Regions from separate parts of the Homo sapiens genome. Here all the other regions are linked to region 2. The links are contacts of gene promoters, found by promoter capture Hi-C in blood cells and fetal thymus (Javierre and others, 2016). All regions are on one chromosome and are shown on one strand. The core of a region is centred on a gene start or on the middle of the fragment in contact, and the rest is flanking DNA. Distances in the headings are between cores, read along the strand shown.

What was found. The method cuts DNA at HindIII sites, captures the fragments that hold promoters and counts their contacts. A CHiCAGO score of 5 or more calls a contact.
Region 1: a contact is called between a fragment that was not itself captured here and the fragment with the promoter of WRAP73 in region 2, in 1 of 17 cell types (neutrophils). The highest score is 11.8, in neutrophils.
Region 3: a fragment that was not itself captured here is called in contact with the fragment with the promoter of WRAP73 in region 2 in 1 of 17 cell types (neutrophils); the score reaches 5.0 in neutrophils.
Region 4: a contact is called between a fragment that was not itself captured here and the fragment with the promoter of WRAP73 in region 2, in 6 of 17 cell types (naive CD4 T cells, non-activated CD4 T cells, naive CD8 T cells and 3 more). The highest score is 7.8, in naive CD4 T cells.

The regions. Positions count from the first base shown.
Region 1 is chr1:3,902,849-3,905,548 of GRCh38, reverse strand. It overlaps LINC01134 (long intergenic non-protein coding RNA 1134), which reads right to left. Exons shown (of 4, transcript NR_024455.1): 2 at 1,513-1,584. Among named protein-coding and RNA genes, the nearest start is that of LINC01134, 3.8 kb to the right of the region's middle. The HindIII fragment of the contact is 1,984 bases long and covers 446-2,429 here.
Region 2 is chr1:3,648,686-3,651,385 of GRCh38, reverse strand. It overlaps WRAP73 (WD repeat containing, antisense to TP73), which reads left to right and starts at 1,283. Exons shown (of 12, transcript NM_017818.4): 1 at 1,283-1,455. The coding sequence starts at 1,387. RefSeq lists an enhancer at 219-1,062. The HindIII fragment of the contact is 11,564 bases long and covers 1-2,174 here.
Region 3 is chr1:3,475,290-3,477,989 of GRCh38, reverse strand. It overlaps ARHGEF16 (Rho guanine nucleotide exchange factor 16), which reads right to left. Exons shown (of 15, transcript NM_014448.4): 10 at 1,928-2,020; 11 at 1-115. Among named protein-coding and RNA genes, the nearest start is that of ARHGEF16, 22 kb to the right of the region's middle. The HindIII fragment of the contact is 4,576 bases long and covers 1-2,700 here.
Region 4 is chr1:3,448,383-3,451,082 of GRCh38, reverse strand. No RefSeq gene overlaps it. Among named protein-coding and RNA genes, the nearest start is that of ARHGEF16, 4.9 kb to the left of the region's middle. The HindIII fragment of the contact is 5,295 bases long and covers 1-2,700 here.

The DNA of each region.
Region 1 (2,700 bases), core at 188-2,687, 250 kb before region 2:
TCCTATGTACTCTACACCTGATTCTGATGCCACCAACTCCAGAAGAGACCCTCTGCCCCATGCTGGTGGCTCCCTGAAGTTTCTGGGCATCTTCCAACTGCCCCAGGGGTAGTCCTGTGAGTCTCTCAGGCACCCTAGCAGGCTCAGAGCCTACATCCTTCTCCGCTGTGTCCTTCATTCAAGGCAGGACCTTGGCACATGTGCACGGGGCAGACACGGGAGGAGCTGCGATACTTTCCAACAGCAGACGGCTGTCCTACCACAGGGTTATTTTTGCCCAGCTAAGTCGGGTGGACCGAGAGGATAGGAGAGGGTGGGCTATTAAGAAAACATTAGTTTAGGTCAATTCAAAGAGAACTTTTTTTTTTTTTTTGACAAAGTTTCACTCTGTCACCCAGGCTGGAGTGCAGTGGTGCGATGACATTTTAAAAGCATGCTGCAAGCTTTTTTTCCCCTGCCTTCTCCCTCTCTCTCTCTCTTTCTACCTATTACTTCTTTCTTTTAATTATAAAAGGCCATATGCAAGAGAGGCCCTGTCATCATACAGGCCACCATCTGTTGGCAGGAATGCAATGTGCTCTGGCCGGGGTGGCCTCAGTTAACGGGTCTACCGACTGCTAGTCAGTTGAAAAATCTCTTCAACTTTCTCACTGGCCCTACAGTGTTTGTCAAAGGCAAATACTGAACTGGGGCACAGCAGTGTTTTAAGTCAGAAATTTGTGGTATGGGCAAGAATGCAAAGTTTCCTCCAATCCACAATCCTCAAGTTCTCTGTGTGCGTCTCGCCCCCGGCCAGCCAGCCAGCCAGCCAATGTCCTCTGGGTATCACCAGCCTCCGTGAACAAAACACGGACCCTGCCTTCCAGGGGCGTACAGTTCAGGTGGGGGGCCAGCCACGTACAAGCCTGCACAGACTTCACACGCCTGCCACCATGGGGAGTCTCACTGTGCCCTGACCTGGCCGGGTGGGGGCACAGCTAATCAGGAATAAGAACAGAAGCAGACACAGCGAACCCGGGAAGCTGTGGTGTGGAGGTGGCTTCGGCCAAGCCTGGTTTTGGGGAACCCAGGAAACCGTGGTGTGGAGGTGGCTTCGGCCGAGCCTGGTTTTCTGCTCCCTCCAGGGTCTCCTGCAATTCCACATGGCAGCTTGAGGTGGAGCGGGGGAGAGAATTCAAGATTGGCTCCTCTGCCCACGCCAACACCTCCCACCTCGTCAGGAGGGGTAGCCTGTCCAGACAGGGCTCCACTGCACATCCAGCCTTGACTAGGAGGCTCTGTTTCCCCCGGGTGGGCCTGAAAGGGGCCTGCATCCTACAGGATGAGGGAGGGAGAGGGGGCCCCAGCCACTTCCTCCCAGGATCCTCACCCGACACCCCCAGCTCTGTGCTGTTGCCCATGTGGCCTCTCCCCCGTGGCTCCCATCACACTGCAAACGTACAATTCTGTGTGATGATTCCATGCCTGGGCTTGCGCCTGGCCCAGTCCCCAGAACACAGTGGAGCTTGATACCTTGAGTGAATGAGTGGATGCGCCATGCTCTGGGATAGCACCGGAGAAACGGTCCTGGCCTGCCACGGGGTCCTGGTAGAAGAGTGCAGAACACTAAAAAAGCAGCAACCGGCAGATTGAATGTAGGGGGCGGGGGAGCATCCAGGAAGGGCCCCCTGAGGACAGGAGATATAAGCTGAGTTGAGGTTTAACAAATGGATTAGCCAGGCAAAACGTGGGTTGGGGAGCTGGGGAAAGAAGGTTTTCAGGCACAGGGAAGTGGGGAAGAGGCTTTGCAGTGGTCAGGAGCTGAGGGAGGCACTGTGGATAGCAGAGGGGCAGGGGAACAGGTGCTGGGACTCTGTGCGGCTGGAGCAGGGAGCGGCAACGGTGAGCAAGCTCAGAAGCCCTTCCGCACATTCATTGGACAAACACCTGCTGGGCACCCACAGTGTGCCAGGCACCATGCCAGGACTTACAGGCCACTCTAAGACTGTGGCTCTGGATCCCAGAAGCAGGGGATCACCCCAACAGCTGTGGGCTGCCCAGGCCAGAGGAAAAGGAGAGACCAGCCGTGAGGCTTCAAAGTCTAGAATTAACAGCAACCGGCATCTGACAGGATGTGGGCAGGGAGAGAGAGACATTCACCAATGGCCTGGGTGTCAGGCCTTACAGCTGGGAGGCTGGAAACCATGCTCATCCCAGACCTGGGGAGAGGACAGACAACATTGGTGAAGGGAAGGAGAGTGCCCTTTGGGATGTTAAAAGTCCACATGGCTCGGAGCCCAGAGCCCCCATCGGGCGGGCGAGGCCAGGCAGTGAGGCATTTACATCAACTGGCACCAACCACAAACAAGACAGGCAAACACCAGCCAAGCCCCAGTGGATGAAAACTTTGAGCTCCCAAGGACTGGGAAATAAAACCACTGAACCAAGCTTATTATGAAATCAATCTCTGCGAAAATGGGACAGGCTAGGTGTTTAACAAAGTATCGCTCGCTCTCATTTTTTTCTGAACAGCTGGCAGCGATTATATTAAGTTTCCATTTCAAACGCATTTCCTGCCAGTTACACATTTGTCTCCTCCCCTTCTGTACAACATGGATAATAACACGGGAGAAGCGCAGGGCTAGGAAGAGAGAGGGTACAACAGCCAGGTAGGACATGTGTGTGTGTGTGTACACCAGGGCTGCAAGCATCTTCACTCAC
Region 2 (2,700 bases), core at 34-2,533:
AGTCGCGTCAGTGAAGCCCGTGGCTTCGCGAGCGAGCCGGGCTGGCGCAGACTGGGTTCTCTGGCCGCAGCGGGTCCGCGCCTGACGGGGAGGGTCCGGCTGACTCGCACATCTTCATGGCTCACCCACTGTTTGCTGGGCGCACGGGGTGGGGACCCAAAGACGAATCCCATGCAGAGGTTTGGGTCTAGTTTTGGCAACAGAAAAGGCCGGCACCGCCGGAGTAGGACGCGCGCGCACCACCATCCATTCGGCCGGGGAGGTTGGGGCGTCCGCGGGGAGCAGACCCGAGGCTGGGCGCCCGGAGGTACGAGCAGGACCCTGGCCGGCTCTCAGCTCCCAGAACCCAGGGCCAGGCGGGGATGTCAGGGTCTGCGCGATCTGGGGGGCCCTAGAGGCGCCGGCGGGGCCTGGCGCGGACTACTAGCGGCCTGCGGGAGCCAGGGGTGGAGGGGGCCGCTGTCTAGGGAAGAGGACCGGGGTCCGGAGTGGGGGTGAGAACGAGGCACGCCCCTGAGCCTGCGAAACCTGCGGACCGAGCGCCCGCGCAGGAGCTCGCTCCCTCTGGGCCCCCAGGTCCCAGACCCGCACGATTCTTCGCCCGGTGCCAGCCCAGATGCGCGCGGGTGATGAACGGGCGGTGGCCGCGATCCACGCGCTCGCTCTGCCCAGTCAGCGGCAAATTCGTTCTCTCCTTGATCTCAGTGGCACTGGAGCGTGAGGCAAGGGCCAGGCGGCAGGTAGAGGGGTCGGACTCAGCAAAAGCAAACAAAACCCCAAGCAAACGAAATAAATACTTATACATTACATACACGATATAATATATGTGCGACAGACACCGTATTACTTATTAAAGATATATTTGTAGGTAAACATATATTTACATGTAAACATACATTTACATATAAATATAAATATATATATATGCATGTGTACACACACGCAGACACACAGGTCGCTCAATTAAATTTGAATTTCAGACTAGCGAGTAATTTTTCCGTATTAGCATGTCCCGTGCAATATTTGGGAACATACTTATAACTAGATTTGTTGTGAATCTGAAATTCAAATTTTACTGTGCTTTCTACATTTTTATCAGCAGCCCTAGCTGGAGGTGCTCAAAGGCCTCCCGGCCTTTGAGGTAAGGTTCTCGGGTCGGAAATCCCTGGTCGGAAGAAACGTGGGCGTTTCCTTTAAAGCCCTGCGGCACAAGAACTACAAGCCCCACAATGCCGCGCGGAAGCCGGCGGCGCTGATAGGCTGCAGTTCACTTCCGCCTTCTGACTTCCGGCCTCGGAGGCCGGCGTCGGCTGTTGCAGCCTGCTGCGCGCCCAGGGGTCCCGCGGGTTTTCGGGCGCAGGGTGGCGCCCGCGGCAGGCGGCGGCCATGAACTTCTCCGAGGTATTCAAGCTCTCCAGCTTACTCTGCAAGTTCTCCCCGGACGGCAAGTACCTGGTGAGCGGCGGGGACCTGGGCCACGGGCAGGACATCCTCGGTGCCAGCGTCCCCGGCGGGCAGGGCCGGGGGCGGCCGCGTGGGTGGAGGCAGCTTGGGGATCCTGCAGGTGCGGTGCCCGGACAGGTGCGGGGCCCGGGCAGGTACCCGGGGCAGGTGCAGTGTCTGAGCAAGTGCCCCAGACAGGTGCGGGACCCAGGAAGATACCCTAGACAGGTGGAGGGCCCGGGGAGGTGCCCCAAGCAGGTGCGGGGCCCAGGCAGGTACCCCAAGCAGGTGCGGGGCCCAGGCAGGTACCCCAAGCAGATATGGGGGCCGGACAGGTGCAGGACCCCGGCAGGTGCCCGGGCAGGTGCGGGACCCAGGAAGATACCGTAGACAGGTGGGGGGTCTGGGGAGGTGCCCTTGGAAAGGTGGGTATCGGCAGTGCCGACTGCACACAGGTGAGGGTATAGGAGATGTCGGCTCTTTGTTGTTACTTTGTCACAAAAGGCAAATTGATGATTCTGTTGCCTGTAAACTGGTAAGTGGTGTGGCTACTTTGTCATCTCTACTTCTCCTCTAATTCTCTTCTCCTCTACCACATGCCGAATAAATGATTTAAATACTAGTATTCTATCCCCAGGTAAGGAAGTAGTTGTCCTCATGGCTGGGATTTGAGGTCTTCGTTCCATGGGTGGCAGAAGGGTGCTTAAATCACAGAGCTATAACTTTAAGCTTCAAAACATATAGTGTATGTACCTGGATGCCTAGTAGTGTATATCCTCAGAAGAGAGGGATAACCCGGATGCCTAGTATGTATGTCCTCAGAAGAGGGGGACAATTGGCATTGGAAAGCCACTAAGAAGAAACATGCCTCGTAAAAAGTGGGCTTCGTTTTCCTTATCCACCACCTGTACTAACTGACTGATGTATCATGATGCTTTTTCAGGTTTTGCCACTCCTGACATTCCTGTGCTCTGTCTAGCTTTTGAGAGTTTAACTCTCAAATTACGTTTTTTACCTCTTCAGGGAGGTTTTATTCCAAATCACATAAAATAGCATCAGCTACAAAACAGAAAACCTCATTAGTTTAAATGGCATCTCAGCCTTGGTATATTTTCAATGTGCCCCCCTCCTCAATTAAATGAGAGGTTTGTTTTTTGTTTTTACCATTTATGAAAATTTCAGTGAATTATAAGGAGAAAGATTACATCTGCTTGCTTAACTTGGGTGTTTTTTTCCAGCTTGTACACTCTGGTCAAA
Region 3 (2,700 bases), core at 131-2,630, 170 kb after region 2:
GGAAAAGGTAGCACGTTGGCCGGCTGGCAATTTTTCGAAAAAGTCCGGTTTCTTCCACTAAGAACAGCTCTCCGCGCTTCAGCAGCCACCGGGAGGCAGAGATCAGTGGGAGGGACTGGGGGGACAGAGCCGGGAGGCGGAGATCAGTGCGAGGGACTGGGGGGGACAGAGCCGGGGTGAGCAGGTCCCCAGGGGGTCAAGGACGCATAGCACCAGGTGGGACTGACTCCTGCCTCTGGACTGGGTGACCAGCTGGCTGCCCTCAGTCGGGGCTGGACAGAGGAAAGGGGCACAATGTGTCCGGGCCTCAAATCGAGGTGCGCCAGGCCGGACCAGACCCTGCCCGATAGCCCAGGGCTGGGTGACCACTGAACATTTCACCCAAGCCAGGACTCGAAGGCCAGTGCTGGGGAAGCCTCCACACACACCTCACCCCTCCGTGGCAATTACGCAGACGCTGGGCCTCCTAGGCACAAGGACCTGCTCAGCCCCGAGGGAGGGTTGGCAGGGGCAGGCCCACCCGTGATGGCCACGCTCCACGTCTGGGGCCTTTCCTGGCTCCTGAGCCACAGAACATCCTCCCTGCTGCCTGGTGCTGAGTTGCTGGAGTCAGTGGGGGGCAGAAGGATGGCAAAGGCCAGAGGGTGGGCAGTGTGGGGGTGATGGGGTGGGTAGTGTGGGGGTGACGGGGATGGGTGTCGCAGTAGGGGGTGGCAGTACAGGGTGGGGGGGAGGGCAGAGTGGGAATGAGGAGCCTGCCCACCAGCTCCCGCTCCTCAGCGACTGTTGACACCTCCTCACCTGCTCCCTGTGGGCCCCGGCTTCCCCACCTGTGCCCACTACAGACTCAGAGCCCCCGGCACCTCCCGCTCCCGGCCTCTGCCACCACCCTCCCTCCTGGATGGGCCTGTTCTCCCCACCCCCACACCCGTTTCCAAGACCAACTTCAAGACCATGTGGGGGTGAGAGCCCCACTCAGGGGTGGACCAGGCCTGGGAGGGGGTCCTTGCTCTGGCAGGGGCAGGCGTTACACCCCAGACTCGAGAGGATCAGGGAGACAAGCGTGAGGGCTGCACGGGTGTGGGCTCAGCGACAGCGGCGCGAAGTCACCGCCCTGACGCCTGCCCCAGGCAGCCCGCCCTGACCCACCCCGGGAGCCCCCTCCCCCAGCTGGGACCCCGCACCCTTACTTGGTTGTCCGTGGCCCTGAGTGAGGGTGGCTGGTGGCCTGTCACCCACTTCTTGCTCCACCCTGAAGGACACCCCCTGGATGGGGCACCAGGACAGGAGACCCACCTGGGCCCGCCTTAGGGGAGGGGCCCTGGGCTGTCCCAGGACAACAGAGGATGCGGCCAGTGTGTGGGATCGTGGGTGGGGGGCTCTGGAGGGAGAGGTATGAGCCCTGCCCGTTTGTGGCAGGGACTAGGGCTGCCCGGGCCTGGGCTGGAAATATTTCACCCTACCCAGAATCCAAGCCTCACTGGGAAACATGGAATCTGGGCTGGCCCTGAAATCACCCTGTCCCCTCCGCTCTGTCCTCAGGCCCTGCCCAGCCCCTGAGGGGCCAGCAAGGAGCGCTGGCCCCAGGCAAGTGCACTGACAGGGCCACTCCTGTTGCCCCCTGGGCTTGGTCACTCAGGGCCTAGGGTCTACCCTTTGCCGGTGCAGTCCTGGGGATGGGGCAAGGGCCACAGAGGCCCACCCAGTGGGATTAGGGGAGGGGTCCACAAGGGGCGCTCCCAGATCGGGAGACTGAGGCCTGGAGAGACCAGAGCCACCAGCCCTAGGAGGCCCAGCCCCCAGGCCTCATGAGGGCAGGCACCCACTCTCCAGCCCTCAGGCTCAGGGGTGTGACCTCACACGCAGGCCAGCAGGGAGGGCTGAGTGGGAAGTGGTCCGAGTGGCCCTGATGTCCGGGGCCACCTACCTTGACCTTGCTGAAGTCCAGCTGTGTGTGCAGCGTGTACATCTGCTCCATGCGCTCCATCCTGTGGGCCCCCTCGTTGCACTGCCTCACCAGCTGCAGGGCATGGTTCCCGTGTGAGAGGCTGGTGCTACAGGGCCCTGGCACAGCCCACACGGCCCACAGTGTGCCCAGGACACCTGCCCAGCCAGCCTCTGGCTGCCCACAGTGCCTGCCCTGGACCAGCCGTGCCACGGGCTCATCAACTGTGTGAGAGCTCCACTGGCTCTAGGCCTCAGTTTCCCTGTCAGCACTGTGAAAGGCTTGGGATGGATAATCTGGGAACCTCTGGGCCTCAGTTTCCCTGTCAGCGCTGTGAAAGGCCTGGGATGGATAATCTGGGAACCTCTGGGCCTCAGTTTCCCTGTCAGCGCTGTGAAAGGCCTGGGATGGATAATCTGGGAACCTCTGGGCCTCAGTTTCCCTGTCAGCGCTGTGAAAGGCCTGGGATGGATAATCTGGGAACCTCTGGGCCTCAGTTTCCCTGTCAGCGCTGTGAAAGGCCTGGGATGGATAATCTGGGAACCTCTGGGCCTCAGTTTCCCTGTCAGCGCTGTGAAAGGCCTGGGATGGATAATCTGGGAACCTCTGGGCCTCAGTTTCCCTGTCAGCGCTGTGAAAGGCCTGGGATGGATAATCTGGGAACCTCTGGGCCTCAGTTTCCCTGTCAGCGCCGTGAAAGGCCTGGGATGGATAATCTGGGAACCTCTGGGCCTCAGTTTCCCTGTCAGCGCCGT
Region 4 (2,700 bases), core at 11-2,510, 200 kb after region 2:
GAGCTATGATCGAGCCAGTGTACTCCAGCCACTGTACCAAGACTCTGTCTCAAAAAAAGAATGTCTGAAAAATTTCCAAATGTGATAAAAACTTGTAGATCCACAGATCCAAGAACCTCAAAGCAATGGAGAATAAGTCCAAAGAAGTCAAAGCAGCATACGTACAAAGCAGACCCCACCACAGTACCTCATAATGAAATGGCTGAAAACCAGGGACAGAGGGAAAAAATCCTGACCACCCAGAATATTCAGTAGATACCAAAGAAGGCCATGTCCTAGGTGAAGGGCTGAAGTAATCCTAGGGTGACAGCTCCTCTAGACATGACCTAACAGAAGTTCAAAGCAAGTCCTGAGAGGACCAGGCTGATCCACAAGTACGTTAACTGTGCATCAGCATAACACTCAACATGCTTGAAAAGAAGGCCAGTAAAATCCAGAAACTCAAACAATTTGACATTTACGACCTCCAGCACCCAATGCAAAATTACACATTTACAACCTCCAGCACCCAATGCAAAATTACACATTTACGACCTCCAGCACCCAATGCAAAATTACACATTTACGACCTCCAGCACCCAATGCAAAATTACACATTTACGACCTCCAGCACCCAATGCAAAATTACTAGACATGTGAAGAAGCAGGAACAGGAACCTGTGACAAATAACTAGGAAAAAAATCAGTCAGTAGAAGCAGACCCAGAAATGACACGGATGACAGGATTCGCAGAGAAGGCATTTAAAACAACAATCAAAAATACCCCAAAGGATCAGCTGGGCATGGTGCCGCATGCCTGTAATCCCAGCACTTGGGAAGGCTGAGATGGTGAGTTGCTTGAGTCCAGGAGTTCAAGACCAGCCTGGGCAACGTGGTGAAACCCCATCTCTACAAAAAATACAAAAAATTAGCTAGGTGAGCTACTCAGGAGACTGGGGTGGGAGGATCACTTGAGCCCAGGATTTGGAGGCTGCAGTGAGCTGAGCTCGCACCACTGCCCTCCAGCCTGGGCAACAGAGCCAGACCCTGTCTCTCTCTCTCTATACACACACACACACACACACACACACGCGGACACACACGGACACACATATACACACACACACATATATATAATATATACACACACACCACCCAAGGATTTATAGGAAACGATGATCACAGTCAAAGGAGAGATGGAAAGTATAATAATGAATCAAATGGAAATCCTAAAGATGAAAATATACAGTGTAGGAAACAAAAAATCTATTGGATGAGATTAACAGCAGATGAAACTACAGAGGAAAACAATCAGTAAACTTGAAGCCAGGACAAGTTACTCAGACTGAAGCACGCAGAGGAAAAACCTAGGGAAAAGGCAGAAACCGAGCCTTGCCCACCTTGAGACGGTATCAGGCATCAGGCAGTCTAACAATATGTGTAACTGGAGGACCAGAAAGGAGGGAGTGGGGAGGGAAGAACATATGTTTAAAGCAATGGCTGGGTACAGTGGCTCACGCCTGTAATCCCAGAACTTTGCATGACTGAGGCGGGCGGATCACTTGAGGCCAGAAGTTCGAGACAAGCCTGGGCAACATGGTGAAACCCTGTCTCTACTAAAAGTACAAAAATTAGCCAGGCATGGTGGTGCATGCCTATAGTCCCAGCTACTTGGGAGGCTGAGGTGGGAGGATTGCTTGAGCCCAGGGAGGTCGAGGCTCCAGTGAGCTGTGATTGAACCACTGTACTCCAGCCTGGGTGACAGACCAAGACTCTGTCTTATTAAAAAAAAAAAAAAAGGAAGAATGGCTGAAAATTTTTCAGATGTAATAAAAACTCATAGATCCACAGAATCAAGGACCTTAAAATGAAGTAGAATAAGTACAAAGATGTCAAGGCAGCATACGTACAAAGCAGACCACACCAAGGTACCTCATAATGAAATGGCTGAAAACCAGTGACAGAGGGAAAAATCGTAAGGGAATAAAGACCAAAATAACTGCTGGCTTGTCATCAGAAACACTGAAAGCTGAGAGAACTACAACAACATCTTTAAAGTGCTGAAAGAAAACAAAACTGTCAACCAAGATGTCCATTTCTCTTGAAAATATCCTTCAAAAATGAAAGGAAAATAAAGACATGTTAAGGCAAACGCTGAGAAAATTCATCACCAGTAGACCCACACTATAAGAAATGTCACAGGAATTTTTTCAGGCGAAAGGAAAATGATACCAGATATAAATTCAGGTCTGCACAAGGAGTAGAAACCCACTGGAAATGGCAAATATGTCAATAAATGTGAGAGGCTTTTTTTCTGTGCTTCAAAACATTCCTTTTTTTTTTTTTTTTTTAAATGGAGTCTCACTCTGTCGCCCAGACTGGAGTGTAGTGGCACGATCTCAGCTCACTGCAACCTCCACTTCTTGGGTTCAAGTGATCCTCCTGCCTCAGCCTCCCCAGTAGCTGGGACTACAAGCACACACCACCATGCCTGGCTAATTTTTGTATCTTTTTAGTAGAGATGGGGTTTCACCATTTTGGCCAGGCTGGTCTTGAACTCTTGACCTTGTGATCTGCCCGCCTTGGCCTCCCAAAGGGCTGGGATTACAGGTGTGAGCCACTGCACCCGGCCCAAAACAGTTCTTTAAAAGATCAGAGACTAATGTGAAAATAACGACAGTGTATTATCAAATTTATATGTAAAAGTGAAATATATTACAG